3 separate regions of the Homo sapiens genome follow, and all the other regions are linked to region 3. The links are contacts of gene promoters, found by promoter capture Hi-C in blood cells and fetal thymus (Javierre and others, 2016). All regions are on one chromosome and are shown on one strand. Each heading gives the region's core, a stretch centred on a gene start or on the middle of the fragment in contact. The rest is flanking DNA. Distances are from core to core; before and after follow the strand shown.

Evidence for each region. The method cuts DNA at HindIII sites, captures the fragments that hold promoters and counts their contacts. A CHiCAGO score of 5 or more calls a contact.
Region 1: a contact is called between the fragment with the promoter of RASGEF1C here and the fragment with the promoter of FLT4 in region 3, in 2 of 17 cell types (erythroblasts and endothelial precursors). The highest score is 11.6, in erythroblasts.
Region 2: a fragment that was not itself captured here is called in contact with the fragment with the promoter of FLT4 in region 3 in 1 of 17 cell types (neutrophils); the score reaches 5.2 in neutrophils.

Annotation. Positions count from the first base shown.
Region 1 is chr5:180,207,177-180,211,271 of GRCh38, forward strand. RASGEF1C (RasGEF domain family member 1C) reads right to left here and starts at 2,035. Exons shown (of 14, transcript NM_175062.4): 1 at 1,852-2,035. RefSeq lists an enhancer at 34-826 and a silencer at 1,951-2,170. The HindIII fragment of the contact is 1,452 bases long and covers 1,566-3,017 here.
Region 2 is chr5:181,114,799-181,119,099 of GRCh38, forward strand. It overlaps the pseudogene LOC729707. Among named protein-coding and RNA genes, the nearest start is that of OR2V1, 14 kb to the right of the region's middle. The HindIII fragment of the contact is 3,501 bases long and covers 208-3,708 here.
Region 3 is chr5:180,646,790-180,650,888 of GRCh38, forward strand. It overlaps FLT4 (fms related receptor tyrosine kinase 4), which reads right to left and starts at 2,811. Exons shown (of 30, transcript NM_182925.5): 1 at 2,699-2,811. The coding sequence starts at 2,756. The HindIII fragment of the contact is 6,264 bases long and covers 1,619-4,099 here.

The DNA.
Region 1 (4,095 bases), core at 785-3,284, 440 kb before region 3:
TAGCAGGTTTTGGTTGGCTTCGGTGTGGATGCAGTCATTCTGAAACTCTTTCGGGGTGCATTGTGGAGCTAAGTAAATGATGAAATATATTCATGTTTGGGGGAATAAGGTTCTCACTGCAGGAGAAAGGGAAAGGAAATATTAATTTTTAGTAAAAAAGGGGCCTTGGCTTGGTCCACTGACAAGGCCTAGAGGCGGCGAGTGCACGCCCCACACTAAGCCCGGGTCCCACGCAAGGAACCAAGGCCCCTTGGACAAATGGCTGACTCTGGATCTGGGTCCAGGTACAAGTGAGAGCTGGAACCACCTCAGAGACTGGCGGGGACATGGCAGGAGGGTGCAGACCCCGGCCTGAAAAGGGCCAGGTCCCGGGCAGGGCCCCACCTCTACCTGGTGGCCTGCGGGCTCCCCCTCGCCAGTCCCGCCCTGGGCTCCGCAGCCCGTCCCTCTCTCGCCTGCCCTCCCTCTCCTGCCCCGGCAGTGCGCCCACCCGCCGCCACGGGCAGCCTTTCGACGCCCAACCTGCAAACCGCCTGGGGGCTGCCCAGGACGTCCAGACCCTGTAGCGTCTCAGCTCCAGCTCCGCCCCCTCCTGCCCTCAGGGATCTCACCCGCGCTGTTCCCCCGGGCTACCCGTCCATCACAGGCTGGGCTCCCCGCTCAGGACAGCCTCCCTGACCAGACGAAGGCTCCGCCGCGCCCTGGTCTCCCTCTGCCCCAGTCACCCTACTGCATGTTCTTCCCAGCACGCATAAGATCTTGGCCATGTCCTTGCTTTTGCCTTTGATTTCTTGTTTGGTGTCCCCTCCCACACCAGCTAGTGAGCACTTACGGGGGCAGGCAGCAGGCGGCACACAGTAGGCGCTCAATGAATGTGGCCAGTGAGTGGACAACCCTAGCCCCCCTCCACCGGTCGCCTGCACAGTGGCTGCACTATGGCTGTTGGAGCCAGTCTTACCAGAGGTGGGACCCCAGCGTTGCCACTCCATGGTCCCGCCCCTCTCTAAACCTCAGTTACTCCACCTGCCTGGCAGGCAGAGCTTCCCAGGACTCTTCTCAGGCTCCCGGGGCTCAGAACTTCTGTCTCTCCCACAGCCCCAGGAGGCAGGAGATACGGGCCCGGAAGAGCTCCACCAGCACCCCAACTTCCCAGCTCTGTCTTTCCCACAGTTTCCCACGCCCACGCTGAGCATGGGGCGGCGTCGCCAGCACCCTTCCCCAAGTCCCCCCAAGCATCGCTTTCCCAATCTAAATACAATGAGTGGACCAGGTGGTCCCTTGATGCCGTCCGCTGTCACTGCGTGAGGGACACACCCAGGACTCCCAGCAGACCCCACTGTTCTCGCAGGCCCTCTGATAGTGGCGCTGGTCCTTTCCTCAAATCCGATCCCATCCTCAAGGGTGACAGCACCCTCTTCCCCCAGGCGCAAGGCCCTTTCCCTTCTGCACGTGCACCGGCAGGTCTGCTTTCCCGTCCCCATTTCATAGACGGGGAAACTGAGGTCCGGTGCGGGTGGAGGCTTTGGTCTAGGCTGGCTCTTCCTGCCACTCTAGCGGCTGAAAGAAGCTTGCTCCTCGCGCCCAGCAGGGGCTGGCGGCGCGCGGCAGAGCTGGGTCTCCCGCCAGGTGGCCGGGGGTGTGCCCTCAGGGTACCCTACCCGCTACCCCCGCGCCTCCAGTCCCGGCGGCCGCGCGGACCCCGCCCCTGCTGACCCCGGCGCACGCTCCCGCGCCGCGCGCAGCCTCCCGCCTCCCGCCGACCCCGCCGCGCCGCCGGCAGCCCTCCCCAGCCCCCGCGAGCCCGCGCCCTTGCCCGCACCGCCAGGTGTCCCTCGGCCGCGCACCACTCACCGGCTCCCGGCGCGCCGGAACTCCGGGCCCGGCCCATGGGCAGCTCCCGGTGCGAGCCTCGGCGCCGCGGACCGGGGCGCCGCCCGCCGCCGCCGCCGCCGCCGCCGCCGCCGCCGCCGCCGCCCGACCGCCCGGCTCCCAGCGCAGCCCGCACGAGCGCCTGGCGGCGGCCCCGGAGCAACGCGGCGCTGCGCCCCCTCGTGGCACTCAGGCAGCGCGGAGCGGGCGGGGCGCGGGGGTGGAGCTGCGGGAGCCCGCGGGCGGCGCTGCACACCAGGGCCCTCCGTGCCCCGGCCGCGGAGCCAAGCGTCCCGCCCTGCGTTCAGGCCTCCGCGGCGGCTGGCCCCCCGCGCCAGGACCACCCGCTCGGGCCGTCAGACGCTGCCCTCCCGCGCGCGGACCCTGGCGGACTCTGCGCCCCAGCTGCCCCAGCCTACACCTCACCTGGTGGGCCTCTGGCGCCCCAAAACCCAGTTCACCCTCTCTCCTCAAGACTGGGCCCGGCCCGGTTCTCTGGACTGGCCACCTAGGTTGTCTGTGTCCCCCAATGGGACATCCCTGGGTGGACACCCCCCCTCCCCAACCTTCTCGGCGCTCTCCCGTGGCCCCCAGGGAGGGTGGACACCACTTTGAAGACACCGGGGTTCTGGGAGGATGGCGATGCATGATTTCACTTTTAGAAAGGGAGAGGGGCTCTAACAGGATCCAGTGGCCTCCTTGAACTGGGTCTTCAGTGAAAAGTTCCCTGGTTGGTCCCAGCATAGAGGTCAGGACACCTGTCCTCCTGTGTCCGCAGTTTGTCCCTTCCGCTGGGTTCCTGGTCTGGCTGACTTCAAGAATGAGCCAGGGACCTTGGCAGTGAGTGTTACAGCTCTTAAAGGTGGTGCGACGGTGAAACCCTGTCTGTACTAAAAATACAAAAAAATTAGCCAGGTTTGGTGGTGGGCGCTTGTGGTCCCAGCTATTCGGGAGGCTGAGGCAGGAGAAGGGCGTGAACCCGGGGAGGTGGAGCTTGCAGTGAGCAGAGATTGCACCACTGCACTGTAGCCTGGGCGACAGAGCAAGACTCCATCTCAAAAAAAAAAAAAAAGAAAAGAAAAGAAAAAGGTGGTGCAGACCCAAAGAGTGCGTAGCAGCAAAATGTCTTGTGAAGAGCAAGAGAACAAAGCTTCCACAGCAGGGAAAAAGACCACAGCCGGTCGCCGCTGTTGCTGGCTGGCGAGGGGTGGGCGGGCAGCTTTTATTCCCTTATTTGTCCCCACCCATGTCCTGCTGATTGGTCCGTTTCACGGAGTGCTGATTGGTGCGTTTTTACAGAGTGCTGATTGGTGCATTTACAATCCTCTAGCTAGCCAGAAAAGTTCTCCAAGTCCCCACCCGACACGGAAGTTCCAGCTGCCTTCACCTCACTCTGCTTTAGTCAGGACCTGCCTGATGAGATGTGGCCCAAAACTCAACCCAACCAGCTTGAGCAAAAAGCTGGTTTGTGGATCATAAAAAGCCAAGGTTTACTGCTTAGAGGAATGGCTAGATCCAGGTACTTAACCTATGTGCATAGAAACTGGCCTCCCCTATCTCCCAGTCTTTCTGTGGCAGAATGGCCCTGGGTTGACACCTCAGAGAGGGCACAGCTGCCTGATAGTTGCAAGGACAGCCTGCGGCTGCCACACACAGGCTCCGAGGAGCTGAGCTCAGGCCATTTCCAAAGACCTAGGGAGCAGGAATAGCAGGCCTGGGTGTCGTCTCACTAGAGCTGAGGCAGAGTTAGTCCTGTGTCAGCTTTGAGGATGGAGTAAGGTGCTGTTCCAAGCTTCCGTGAAGGCTGTTCCTGGAAGAATGGACAGGTTAAGAACAACAGTCCAGCCCATTTCTTGAACAGTTAGGGAAACTGAGTCCTGGAGAGAGCAGGCAGCTGCCTAGGGCATACAGATGTATTAGAATGAATGTGGGCCAGGTAGCTAGGCAGGGAGACAGCAGGGCTGGGGCCAGGGCCAGGGCCAGAGGCTGGCCCTAGGGAGGGTGACATCTGAGACCAAGGGTCAGGTGTGGGGAAAGGGAGGAGGAACAGAGGCAGGCACTTGGTCAGGGGTGAGCAGTGTGCTCCCAGCAGATAGACAGATGCGCCTCAGGGTGCAGGCACTGGGCCCTCCCTGCATCTTCTCCGATTATCACCCTATGCCCCTAAGCCTCAGGTCCAGTCCCAGGGTGTCGCCTGGAGGAAGCCAGGAGTCTAGGAGGAGAGGC
Region 2 (4,301 bases), core at 708-3,207, 470 kb after region 3:
CTGCCGTGGTGCTGGGAATCCTACTCAGCAAGATGCTGAGAGGCTGAGATGCGCGGTGCGCGGCGGCGAGTGGCGGAGCGAGGGGCGGTTTTCAGAGGCGCTGTGTCTGTGTGTCCCCTCAGTGCTGAGGTTCGCTGCAACATCGGCAGAAACCTGGCTGCTAAAGGCAACCAGACGGGCGCCATCAGATACCACCGGGAAGCTGTAAGCTTAAATCCCAAGTATGTTCATGCCGTGAATAATCTTGCAAATGTCTTAAAAGAAAGGAATGAGCTACAGGAAGCTGAGGAGCTGCTGTCTTTGGCTGTTCAAATGCAGCCAGACTTTGCTGCTGCGTGGATGAGTCTAGGCATAGCGCGGAGCAGCCTGAAACGCTTTGAAACCGCCAAGCAAAGTTACCCGACGGCGAGTAAACAGAAGGAAATACCCAGACCGTTACTACAGCCTCCGGCGTCTGCTGATCTCAATCGCCAGGTGGACGCCTTCAATGCGTGGAGAAATGCACCGAGCTGAAACCAGCGCGCAGCCTGGCCTGGAACAACGTGGTTACACTGCTCACGACCCAGGTAGTGCAGCCCAAGCCGAGGCAGTTGGAAGAGACGCGCTGGAATTAATACCTGATGATCACTCTCTCGTGTTCTCCTTGGCAAACGTGCTGGGGAAATCCCAGAAATACAAGGAATCGGAAGCCTGACTCCTCAAGGCAATTAAAGCAAATCCAAATGCTTCAAGTTACCGTGGTAATTTGGCTGTGCTTTATCATCGCTGGGGACACCTAGACTCGGCCAAGAAACGCTATGAAGTCTCCTTGCAGCTTCACCCCACGGCATCAGGAACTAAGGAGAATGCAAATGCAACAGAAAGACGCTGATCCTTTTTCCTTCATGTTTGGAGTCTGAGTGTGTGTGTGCATGAGCATATCTTTAATAGTATGTGGTTACATTTAACCATTTAAAAGTCTCAGACATGTGATTTTATTGATTTTTTTCGGCGCAAAAAGATGATAGCACCAGCAATATACTCTTGAATGCTTGATATGATTTTTTCATTGAAATTGTATTTTTTCAGACAACTCAAATGTAATTCTAAAATTCCAAAATTGTCTTTTTTAATTAAACAGAAAAAGAGAAAAAAATTATCTTGAGCAACTTTTAGTAGAATTGAACGTACATTTGGGATCTGAGCCTTGTCGTGTATGGACCAGCACTATTAAACTTCAATTATGACCAAGAAAGGATAGACTGACTCCTACAATTTGTATAAATATTGAATGTGTCTGTATGTTAGCATTTTTATTTAATGAAAAAGCAAATTAAGATTCTTGTTTTTTTAATCTCTCTTTTTTTAAAGCAATATACTGTGAACTTCGTTTGTAAGAAAATATTTATTTGTATTTTTATGTCTGGAATAGGGCAAATAATCGAACGAGGAATGGAAATTTTAACATGTAGTACAGCTACATGCTGTTCCCCACAGGAAGAAATTGACTCTTGCAGTAGTTTTGGATGCTCTGACTTGCACAATTTCAATACATAGGTGGTTATGCATAATCGATTACTATCAATAGAAAGTTCAAGCCATGCTTTAGGCAAGGGCAGGCAGCCTCACATCTTTATGTTTGTTACATCCAGGGTGAAGAGGGCAACACATCTGTGCAAGTTGCTTTTGAGTGTTTTTAACTGAAAAGCTGTTTTCCATTTTTGCTTAATGAAACTACAGAAATTACTCTATCCAGAAAATGCAAAATTTTCTCTCAAATGGAGCCACATTTATGGTATTTTTAAGAATTGAGTTGTTCCTGCTGTTTTTTATTTGATCCAAACAATGTTTTGCTTTGTTGTTCTCTGCATGCTGTTGACCTAATGATTTATGCAATCTCTGTAATTTCTTATGCAGTAAAATTATTACACAAACTAGCAAAAAAAGAGAAAGAAAAGAAAAGAAATGGAGAACACGGGGCAGCTCAGGCAGAGAACCCATCTGCGTAATAAAAGATTAGTATGGGGACTACCAGAGATTTGTGGCCTATGCAAATGGCACGCCTGGTCCACCCAGTTTTTCTCGCCCGATGTAGATCAGACACCACCTCCTCACCAGCTCATCAGTAACACCCCCTGCATTTCACTGTGGATCCAGGAGCCCATTTTTCTGAGACCCCTCTCTGTAGCAGAGTGGTTATCTTTCTTTCACCTATTAAACTTCTGCTCTTGGCCAGGTGTGGTGGCTCACACTTGTAATCCCAGCACTTTGGGAGGCCGAGGTGGGCAGGAGGTCAGGAGTTCGAGACCAGCCTGGCCAACATGATGAAACTCCATCTCTACTAAAAATACAAAAACTAGCCGGGCGTGGTGGCACACGCCTGTAATCCCAGTTACTTGGGAGGCTGAGGCAGGAGAATTGCTTGAACCCGGGAGGCAGAGGTTGCAGTGAGCTGAGATGGCACCACTGCATTCCAGCCTGGGTGACAGTGAGACTCCATCTCAAAAACAAAACAAAACAAACAAACAAAAATCTTCTGCTTTTAATCTCACTCTTTGTGTGTTCACATCCTTGATCTCCATCACCATGAGACAATGAACCTCGAGTATTATCCCAGACAACGAGGCCGCTTCAATACACATTTGGTTTATCCATTCATCAATTGATGGACATTTATGTTGTTTCCACTTTTTGGCTATCATGAACAATGATACCATAAACAGTTGAGTACAATTCTTTACATAAACACGTTTTCAATTCTCTTGTGTATATACCGAGGACTGGAGTTGATGGGTTGTATAGTAACCGTATGCTTAACCTTTTGGTATAGCAAAGTGAAACTTACAACATAGCAATTCCACTCATATCGTTTATATGAATGGAATTTATATGAAATTTACAGGAAAGGCAGATCAATACAGACAGAAACCAGATCACTGGTTGTCTAGGTTGGAGGCTGAGAGCCAGGGTTGGCTGCAGATGGGGATGCAGGAAATTTTTCTGACAAAGGAACTGTTTTAAAAGTGGATTGTGGTGATGGTTGCAGAACTGTATACAGTGACTAAAAATCATTGAGCTGTAAACTTACAATGAGTGGATTTTATTGTATTGAACTGTGCCCCAATAAAGCTGTTAGGGAATGCTAAACCATAAAAACAGACCCCCAAACACAGCAGCGAGGCAGTTAGTGTTTCCCAGGGATCAGCTGAGTGACCGTTGCAGTGTGCAAAATGATTCCTGTGGCCCAGAGCATAATAATGTTCACATAAGGCTTTAATGCAGCCTTGGCGGGCAGGTAACTTGCACCTTGAAACTTGAAGTTCTTGCTAGTGTTGCTTGTAATTAAGCTAAAGTAATTGTATAAATGATAAACATATGAGTAAATTTAAGGAGATGCCAAGTAAATGAAGGAGATGAGCAACCACCATGAGACTGAAGCTGGGAGGGGCGTGATGGAAGTCATCCAATCCAAAACTGCCGGAATAGAGACCTTGCCAACAGATGAGTTTAAAAAACGAAAAGTGCATGTTACAGAAACGAAATGAGGATCCGTCATAGGATCCAGTTTATGGCCAACATGGGCGCATCCACCCAATAGTGTGAGTCTGCAGGAGGGGCCAATGTGTGCTGCTGTGTTTTGTGTGTAATGTGCAAAGTCCTGGTCCTTGAGGAGATGGGGGCACTGGCTTTTATTTTCTACAGCTGTCTTCTATAATCTAAGGAGAGAAAAGCTTCTGTTGATGAGCACGCGGGGCTGCAGGAGGGTCGTGGTGTTGAGCGTGCTGGCCCTCTGCAGGGGCCGCCTGGGCAGGTCAGCTCCTCCGTTGGCTCTCAGAGTTTGAGTTTCACAACCCCTGGAGGTCCTGGTTCCTCCTGTAGAATGGCTCTGTCCAAATTTCCTCTTATAAGGACACCAGTCAAATTGGATTTGGGCCCACCCTAGTGACCTCATTTTTGTATAATCACCTCTTTAAAGACCCTATCTCCAAAAACAGTCACATTTTGAGGTCCTAGTGGTTGGAGCTCTAAGATATGAATTTTGAGGGGGACGCACTTCAGCGCTAGCAATGTCTTTCAGGCCTCAGGACTCCAGCTGAGCAGCGAGGCAGAGTCCAGATGGCAAAGGGAGGCTCTGGAGGGTTTCACAAATGGGACCATCCTGTGCCACTTTAGGCAAAAGGTGGAAGGAAGTGATCTTCTGGGGCTGCTTGGCTGGTTGTTCCAATGAATCCAGGAGAAGCAACCAGGTTAGCTTTGCCTTTGCCCTTTGGAAATCCATTTGGATTCAGTTCCAGTGTTGCATGGGCCTGGAGGCTGTGCCA
Region 3 (4,099 bases), core at 1,561-4,060:
CTGCTGGGGGTTACAGTGAAGAATTCGCCAGACAGACCACACATCACACCTCGTACCCTGTCTGGGCCCAGCCATGTGGGCCCTATGCTCTGGGAGGGCTCAGGACTCCTTCAGCCACACTGGCTCTGTGCCATAGGCCTGGTGGATGAGGGAACAGCACCTGCATTCGAGTCCTCAGAGCCCTGAGCTGGAGCAGAAGGTCCCCAGGCCCAAGTAAAGTGGGCCTGATCCCCACATCCTGCCTGCAGTGACTTGCATCCCTGGGCCACACATCTGTCCACATCTGGGCCTTTGTGACCCAGGTCACAGCAAGGGCAAACGTCCTGAGACCAGGCCACTCCAGATGCCCAGCAGACCCTGCTCCTGCATGTCCCTGAGCTGGTAGCCACAGTGCAGAGGTGCCAATGGCCTCTCTCTAGACTAAGCCCCAAGAGACATCTGTGACCTACCCTCTCCACTGGGGCAAGACTGTGGAACTGCAGCAGGCATCTGGGTCTTGGAGTCCAGCCCAAGCACACACAACCCACACAACCTCGGGGCTTGCCAGCTTGTGCCATGGCTATGCTTGTGCCATGGCTATGCTTGTGCCATGGCTATGCTTGGGGAAACTGAGGTGCAGGGAGGGGAAAGGAGGGGGCCCAGGTCACACAGAAAGGACTTTACGGCAGAGGCAGGACAAGAGTCTGGTTCTATGATCAATAGCACACTTTTAAGGGGTCAGCTTCAGGATGCTCAGGCTTCTGGCCTGCTCCCACCGGACCAGCTGCCCTGACACCCGACTGCAGCTCCCACCGGACCAGCTGCCCTGACACCCGACTGCAGCTGAGGGCTTGTGCTTCCGCCATGGCATCCCCCATCAAGCTGGGGGCTCCCGGGGTCTTCAGCCTAGCAGGGGGTACAGCAAGGTGCAGGGCTCACGGAGGGATGACCTCTGTCTTCATTGCCATCTCCCCACCAGCCAAACCCAGGTCCAGCCCAGGACACCCCTCTCCATGGGGCGCCCAACTAATGCCCTCTCTCCTCTTCATAACTGGGTCACTAAGAGTCACTACTTACTGCAGGGAATAGCTTCCTCACCCTTCACCCCACGTCCCTCTGTGCTCCACCCGGGAGCACCAGGACACTGGCCTCTCCTGGTTCTCCTTATACCTGCAGAATGTTCCCTGGATCCCTGGAAGCCCCCTTGCCCTCTGGGCCCCTCCTCCAGGGTTCCCCTCCCGGGTCTCTCTCTTCCTCTCCAGCTACTCAGCCCAGCTCAGACACTGCGCCCAGGTGCCTGTCCCATGTCTCCTCCAGGATAAGCGTCTCCCATTCTACAGCCCTGCAGTCCAACCAAGGTCTACCAGCCACTCGACAAATACATCCTGAGCACCTGTGGGAGCCTGGTCCTGGGCTGGGTCCAGGAGGGCCAAGGGCAGCGCCCTGATCTGGCCTGCCCGACTCGGAGGCCCAGATAGATGTTCTCCTCCCTCCTCCCCTGGTTGAGCCAGACCTGCCCCCTCTCCTGTCCTCTGCCCTTCAGCCAGTGGACATACAGGTGGTGAGCAAAGGCAGGCTTTGTCAGGCTTACTTTGGGCCTCCTGGGGACCTTGGGGAAGTGACACATGTCCTTGGTCTAAGCTTCTCCATGTGTAAAATGGGTCTGACACTCCCTGTGAGAATTACAAGCATGTAAAGCCAGTATTTAATTCCTATGGCGTGCAGAAATGTTGAGGTCCCCGTCGCTGACTTCAGGGCTTCAGACACTGGAACCCCTGACCCCGCCCTTACACCCTTTGATTTCCAGGGACACCAGCTCCGTGGGGACTCCCAGCTCATCTTCTCAGCTTCCTCCCTGACATCTCCATCCACTCCCTCTGCCGCCCGCTCATCCCCCACAGTCCCTCTTTCCAACCCCTCCGCCTCCGCTTCAGGTCTGCGTCTCTCCCCGCCAGAGCCACATCCCAACACAAACCGAACCCCGCCTCTCCTGTGCAGGGGACCCTCCCGCGGGGGCCTCTGCTCCTCAGCTGGCCTTCGAGGCCCCTGTCCCCTCAAATCCGGGGACCCCTGGCCTTCCGCCCCTTCTGCGGCGCTGACAGCCCGCGATTCGCCTCCTCAAGATTCGTCTCAAGTGCCAGCGTGCACCTGCACCCGTCCGCCTCGGGCGCGCGGTGGTCCCCGGCCCCTGTCCCCGCCGTCGCCGGCCACGGGGAGGGGGAAGCCCGCCTCGAGCGCCCTCTGGGGGACCGACCGCGAGCGGAGGCGCTGGGCGTCGGGAAGTGCGCACCCAAGTCCGGGGCCCGGCCGGGATGGATCTCCGGCGCGCGTGGGTCGGGACGGCGCGGCGCGGGGACCCCGCGGGGAAGCGAGTAAGGGCGCGAAGGATCCGGGCTCAGCGCGCAGCCCGGCAGGGCCCGGCTCCGAGGACGCGGAGCCACCGACGGAGACGCGGATTCAGGGGCCGGGAGAGCTACCCCTGCGCCGAGGCGCGGCCCGGCCGCCCTGGCCCTGACCCGGCTGCGGTCCCCGCCCGCCCCTTCCTCATCCCGAGGTCCCGCGCCCCAAGCGCCGTGCTCCCCTCAGGCGTCCGCGCACCAGGGCCACCGTGTCCCCCGCCCGTACCCGGCGGAGCGGTCTCAGCGCCCGCCCCAGGTGCGCGGTACCCCCTCCCCGGCCAGCCCCACGCTCGGGCGGGTGGCCCGTTCGCCGCGCTCACCGTCCAGGAGTCCCAGGCAGAGCCACAGTCGCAGGCACAGCGCGGCGCCCCGCTGCATCTCCGGCCGCTGCGCGTGGGTCCGACCCGAGCGGCCGCGGCTCGGGGCTGAAAGTGTCCGCGCGGGCGCCGGCTGGCCTGGGGCGGGGCGGGGCGGGGCGGGGGCCGGAGGCGGGCCCGGGATTCAGGCCGCTCCCCGCGCCCCCCTCCCCCCGTCCCTCCCAGCCCGCCGCGGGGCGTCCGGTGCACCCGAGCAGTGCGCGCTCCGCACCACAGGGTCCGGGCCCCCTCCTGGGCGGCTCCGGGCGCGGGGACGCGGGTAACGCAGACGGTCTCGCGATGCGCTCCGGAGGTGATGGAGCCTGGTGGGCAAAGGGGAGCAAAATGCGGCACGCGCTCTTTTCCGTCCTTTCTTTCCATCGGTAAAATCTAGACTAAACAAGAAAGCAATCCTTGTAAAAATAGTATGTTACATCTTTGAAAATAGTGGCACCAGCCGGCGTAACATAGGGAGACCCAGTCTCAAAAATAAACAAGCAAATAAATAAAATAATACGCCGAGCTTGGTTGTGCGCGCCTGTAATCCCAGCTTCTCGGGGGGGCTGAGGCAGGAGAATCGCTTGAACCCGGGAGAAGGAGGTTGCAGTGAGCCGAGATCGCGCCACTGCACTCCAGTCTGGGAGCCAAAAAAAAAAAAAAAAAAGCAAAAACAAAACCCGTTCAGCAGTGTTTACCTGCACAGTGTCGACGGACAGTGTCGACGGAAGCCGCACCCGTGAGCGGGACACCCGGGATGACCGACCCCCTCCCTGCAGGCCTGGCCTCCTAGCTTTAGAACTCCCCCAGATGTTTTGTTCTCAGCTCAATCAGGACCCGCCCCCACCTTTTTAATAAAGCGACACTTTGCTTTTGCTTTCTGACTTGGCAACCCTCTTACAGACTTCCGTTCTCTTTTCAGTTTGTCTCTAGAATTTTCCTGTTTAATAATGAAGCCCATGACCATGACTGTCTCAACCTCCTTCCCTGCTTTTCGTTTCATTCACATTTTCCATCCCCCCACCCCCGCCCCCCAAAGCCCTTTCATCCTCGCCAAAAAGCAAGAGTAGATTTTCAATAACCACTACCAGCTCTCTCCAATCCAGGTAAGAAGTGGCTATATTATTAAGCTGGAATCACAAATCAGTGCGGATAGTGTAGATAATTTAACAAATAAGGTTGGGGAAACTAGGTAACCAAGCGATACATGAAGTTAGGTATTTATCAATCATATATTGATTTTTTTTAGCTTTGAAAGATTATGAGATGTAACACACTTATGGAAAGTACATAATATATCAGCATATTATAAACCTGAATTTTAAAGCAACAAATACCTGTGTTTCCATTCTCCAGGCCAAGGGATGT